Regions from separate parts of the Homo sapiens genome. Here region 1 is linked to region 2. Evidence: promoter capture Hi-C in 16 types of primary human blood cells and fetal thymus (Javierre and others, 2016). All regions are on one chromosome and are shown on one strand. Each heading gives the region's core, a stretch centred on a gene start or on the middle of the fragment in contact. The rest is flanking DNA. Distances are from core to core; before and after follow the strand shown. Region 1 overlaps GABRB1 (gamma-aminobutyric acid type A receptor subunit beta1). Region 2 holds the start of GNPDA2 (glucosamine-6-phosphate deaminase 2).

Region 1 (2,700 bases), core at 79-2,578, 2.7 Mb after region 2:
TATGGAAGCAGCTTGATGTTTCTAAAAATAAGTCTAACAGACCTTACTTTCTTATCTGATAGGCTGCAAAATCAATCAAGAAAAATATGAGAAACATAGAGATATAGACGAAAGGCTAAACAATTAGGAAAATATTAAATGGATAAATGATGGTGTCACCCCACAAAGTGCTGATTAAAGACCTGATTCATCCTACAGGAATATTACCAGGGAAATCTTACAGGGCTCTGTCTTTGTCTCTGCCAGTCCACATTTGTCTCAATCAAGGGAATAATGATAAAAGGCATGTTTTTCAAATTTGCAGATAACATGAAACTAAGAGGTTGAGCAAATCAGCATCCAGAAACAAAAATAGCCCAGGCACAGTGACTCATGACTGTAATCCCACTTTGGGAGGCCAAGACGGGTGGATCACCTGAGGTCAGAATTCAAGACCAGCCTGGTCAACATGAAGAAACCCCATCTCTGCTAAAAATATAAAAATTAGATGGCCTAATTTTTTTTATGGTGTTATGCACTTGTAATCCCAGCTACTCTGGAGGCTGAGGCAGGAGAATCACTTGAACCTGGGAGGTAGAGGTTGCAATAAGCCAAGATTGTGCCACTGCACTCCAGCCTGGGCCACAGAGTGAGACTCCATCTCAAAAAGCAAAAACTCAATAGGCTAAAATAGTAAGTCAAATTGAATTAGATAAAATTATCAAACTGGCTCGATACAATTAAATGGGAACAATATTAGTTCTTATGTGTGAGTCCAAAAGAAAGTAAAAACCATTTGATTGTGGAAAAAGCGAATTTGAACTTGTGCTGCTTTAATGGAAGACCAGTGACTAGACTTTGCTAGCCAGTCACTCCAAGAATGTCATGACTTGGGCAGGCATGGGGGGATCTCATCCACATGGGACCAGAAAAATGGTAGAGGAGGTCAGAACAGGGTTGTATAGAGGCTTAACCCCAGCTGAATAGCCCAGATGGATGCCTATCACATGCAGTTCAACCTGGCAGGCAATTTCATCTTGAGAAATTACAGGTAGACAGCCAATTTAAAAGTCAGGAAGGGCCACAATCAGGGTCAGGAGATCTAATGGTGGCAGCAGAATTTCTATCAGTGGGAAATTTAAGAGGAGTTGGACATATTCCAAATAAATAAAGCTCGGAAGGAGATCTTGGCCGTTGCACTAGAGTCCCATTGGTGTCAAAGGTTCAGCCATATAGCCAACACGCATTATAGGCAAAGTGTCTACATCTACAAATTAATCAAGGGTCTTAAACGGATTATTGGCTCCAAAATACATAAAGAATATTACAATATTAAAATTAGTATAACATGTTAACAAATAAGCTGCAATTAAATGTTTTATAGTGATATGTAAATTATGTTTAACATGGAATGTGAATACATTTTAATGTATTTGATATAATGCCTGGAGTCTAAATGCCTTTAAATGGGTATGGTCTAGTGTAGACAAGGATTAATAGACTAGGCAGTGTAAACAGTCAGATATGAAGAAACCGGGCTCTAGAAAAGTCACTCTGGGAATTTACATATTGTCCAAACATAGAAAATGCCAGGGTCGAAATGGAGTAGGGAGAAGCCTGAGTATCCTGACCTTGCTTTAGGTGTGTTAGGTCCTAGATCTGGTTGGAAGTAATGGGGCTTTCCAGAGGATGCTAAAGAAATCAGAAAACATGGTTGGATTCTATGATCGCAAATCTGGGGATACGTCCAAATCTGCTGCTGCTTAATTCTTATGTCAATCAAGAGTGGCTCCATAACAAGGGCAGAATTAACCTTGGGGACAGGTCTGTGCAATAGAGAAAGAAGACAGATAACCCAAAAAGTGGTAAAAGAAACAAGGTAGACATGACTACCCCTAAGTTTAGGGCTGCATACTTCATGGGACATGTAAGCAAACTGGAAACTGTGAGCAGAAAAAAGTTCCTAAGACTGAGCATACCCTGGGAAGGACCAGAGCCTGGAGAATAAAAGAAAGGGAGCATGAAAAGTGTTCTCAAAGATGGGAGGTGTTATTATGTTAAAAAAAGAAAAAAAGGATTGGGTTTGTTTTCTGTTAACACAGAGGTGGGCAAGGATGTCATGGTGGATACTCTCCAAGAAGATGAATTTTTACTTATGATAGAACATGTTTTCTAATGATTATTATCAGAAACACACTCACCCATCCAAACCCAAAGAATGGACTTAGAGGTATGAAGAACAGTGAAAGTGAGACTTTTTAATAATGGCTTTGCAAGATTGGGTGTTTGGTGGGCAGGCACACTTGGGGAAGTCACATCAAGTAATTTATCTCTTACACAAAGTTCCTCCCCCAGTTCCTCATTGGTTGAGTACTGTGGGGTTACAATTTTCCTGGACATCACCTAAGTTTCATTATCCCCTTATAAGGTTATCCCCATCCCCTTCCCTGCTTAAGATTTGATTTCTCAATAACAAAACTGTCTTCCCTTTTATGGGCTGACCCTTCCTCTGCATTCTGTTCTCTTATTGTGACCTTCTAGGTGCATGAGCTGTAAGGTTTGTTTCATTTGCAAGCGGGCTGCCAGTGCTTAGATTTATCATGCCTTGAAAATGGACCGTTGAAAATGTTCTCTCACAATTATCTAAAAACCTAATTAACTACCGAGCAGACTCAGAAAGTAGTAATATGGCTATCTGTAAGCAGTGGATGACCATTCAAA
Region 2 (2,700 bases), core at 147-2,646:
GTTCTGTAGACACAAAAATGATTAACTCTATTGTCAAAGGGCTTAGAATCACTTGTCTCTGAGGTTGAAAGCATTATTCTCACTCTTCATATACAGAAAACTGCAACTACGAGAAGTTTATTGCTGACGTTAAAAAGTGGCCCGGGGAGCTGGCTTTAAAACTAAGTGTTTCTGACTCAAAGAGACATTAGCCAAAGATGTCTTACCGGTTGAGAATCACTTACGATGCTAGTTAAAAATACAGATTCTCAGGTCCCTCTCCCTAGACACAGTGTTTCAAAAGATCTGAAATGAAGTCCAAGGAATCTCTGCTTTTGCAAATTATCACAGGGGATATTCATAATCAGGTGAAATTTGTTAAGAACACCACACATCTCACTGAAACGAAGTTTAAGCAAGTCTCTCAGACCAAGGTACAGGCAACTTTTTGTTTTCTTAAACTCTCTGGAGGGCGCAGAGTCACCTCCAAAAGTCCCAAATGAATCCCTTCACCCAGAGCAAAGAAGAATTTCTTCACCACATTTAAGTTTTTAAGATTTGACTTTTCCAGTTTTTGCCAATCCTCAGAGATCCAAACTATTGTCGCCTTATGCAATTCTCTGGCATCACAAGACAGCATCAAAAAACAACAGAGCACCACCCTTTCCCTCGTCTTCCTTCAGGTGCTGATTCATTTTGGATGTGCATCGCTAGGAAAAAGGGCTGCTGAATATAAATCGCAAAACTTCAATGGTGGATGACAACTTCTACACCCGTGAAGTTACACAGCTAGTTAATGGCGGGGCCAAGACCAGAATCTACACTTGCAGAACCTCTGCTCTGAGCTTTTCCCTACTCAACCTGACCTGTCCTGAAAGCGTAAGGGTGGCCTGGCCGCGCGTGTGGGACCGACCCGAGGAGGGACGAGAGACAGCAAAGAAGGCTGTGGTTCCTGCCCGGGAGGCGGGGGCTGCAGATTCCCCTCAGCTGCGCGTTTGCCTGGCCCTCACTTGGCAAAGGACAGCGAATGCAAATGAGGATGACTGTTAGGAATTTTTAACGAGTGTAGAGAGAGGTGTCAAGAAGAAGCCGCGAGAGAGGAGAGGGCAGGGACGCCTTCTCCCGTAGGCACAAATCCGGAGAGGACAACCAGGTCCGCGAGTGGCAATACGGGAGACCCCACGCGCCCCCAGCCTCGAGGTTCCTGAGCACCCATTCCGCCCCGGCCCGGCGTCCCAGTCTCAGCACAAAGGCCGCACAGGGCGAAGTTGCCGTCGGGTCCCCCGACCCGAGTCCCCTTCTTGGCGCCCCCGCCGCACCCCCCGCTAAACTTACCGGCAGACCCAATGGTTCTTCGATGCTGGAACAGCGGGAACAAGCAACACCCAACCACCCGAGAGCGACCCCAGCTGACCAGTGGAGCGCGAATCCCACGGACCCGGATGCAGATAAAGGCGCAGGAAGGAACCGCGGCGTGGCTGGCGGGCGCTGCGCATGCGCACCGCCTTTAGGACGCCTGAGGTGAGACGCGAGGAGTTCGGTCCGAGTGCGGTGCGGCTGGGCGCTCTTCTTGCCTGGAAGATCGCAGTTTCTGGGTCATCACTTTACGCTACTTTCCCCTCCCCCCCATCTTTCAAAGAGGGATTTGCAGTAGATTCTTTAGGCTTATGAGATTTAGTATGTAAGACCGTAGTGCTCACACGTACTTTGTTGCTTATGTTGCTGTTTGGCAACATGAATATATTTGCCATTTATGAATACATTTCTCTCTCTACTCCAAGCTATTGAATGCATATTTGCAAACGCAATGACAGATAAGCGTCTTGTGTCAAAAAACTCATCAAAGTTTGCAAAAGGGCAAACAGTACCATGGGAAATCGGGAGCGTCTCAGTAAGAGAAAACACTATATAATAGGGTACTGGCTTTTGCTGAATGAGTCTAAGAAAGGGATAGGGGAAGCTGGAATCAGCTTTGAGCTGGGTATCACAGATGTTTATACAGGAGTGGGAAGGAATTGGGCTGTGGAAATTATTGTAAAGAAAGCAGCTATCATTCAAAAGGAGAAAAGTGTGTTGTGTCTTCACCATGTTCCATCAGGAACACTGTTCCATTAATAACACCGTTTAGGGTTCTGTTAGGAACAATACAATCTTGACTCCTAGCCAACTTAAGGTTCTGTTTCTGTGGAAACTACAAGTTAAAAAAATGTAAAACGCTGTGTCCTCAAACTCGTTATATGAAGTTTTTCACCTGGGTTGTAAATCCAGCCTGCTTCTTTGAATGTAATGACTCCTCTTGCATCCTTTAGTGAAGAGTAGGATGTTACATTCTCGTTGATTTAGCTTCAAACAGCAACATTGCTCACATACTGATAATAGACAGGTTTATTAGTACTATCGCCTTCAGTAAGTTTGCAAAAGCGATTTTTGGCCAGATTCGGTGACTCACGCCTGTAATCCCAGCACTTTCAGAGGTCATGGTGCATGGATGGCTTGAACCCAGGAGTTGGAGACCAGCCTGGGCAACATAGCAAGACCCTGTCTCTCCAAAAAAGATTGAGGTAAAATGATGAAGTAGTTTGTAGGCTATGCATAGAATTTAGGCTTTGTATTGTAGGCAATAGGGAGTCACTTAAGCTTTATGAATTGAAGATAAGAGACTAGAACATACGTGTTTTAGAAAGAATGCTGTAGAAAGGTGGAGACTGAATTACAGTCTTG

What was found. The method cuts DNA at HindIII sites, captures the fragments that hold promoters and counts their contacts. A CHiCAGO score of 5 or more calls a contact.
Region 1: a contact is called between a fragment that was not itself captured here and the fragment with the promoter of GNPDA2 in region 2, in 1 of 17 cell types (M1 macrophages). The highest score is 7.0, in M1 macrophages.

Annotation. Positions count from the first base shown.
Region 1 is chr4:47,386,829-47,389,528 of GRCh38, forward strand. All of the region lies in intron 5 of GABRB1 (gamma-aminobutyric acid type A receptor subunit beta1), which reads left to right. Among named protein-coding and RNA genes, the nearest start is that of COMMD8, 76 kb to the right of the region's middle. The HindIII fragment of the contact is 4,382 bases long and covers 1-2,700 here.
Region 2 is chr4:44,725,160-44,727,859 of GRCh38, forward strand. GNPDA2 (glucosamine-6-phosphate deaminase 2) reads right to left here and starts at 1,397. Exons shown (of 7, transcript NM_138335.3): 1 at 1,315-1,397. RefSeq lists a silencer at 813-1,107 and an enhancer at 1,600-1,729. The HindIII fragment of the contact is 3,169 bases long and covers 1-2,614 here.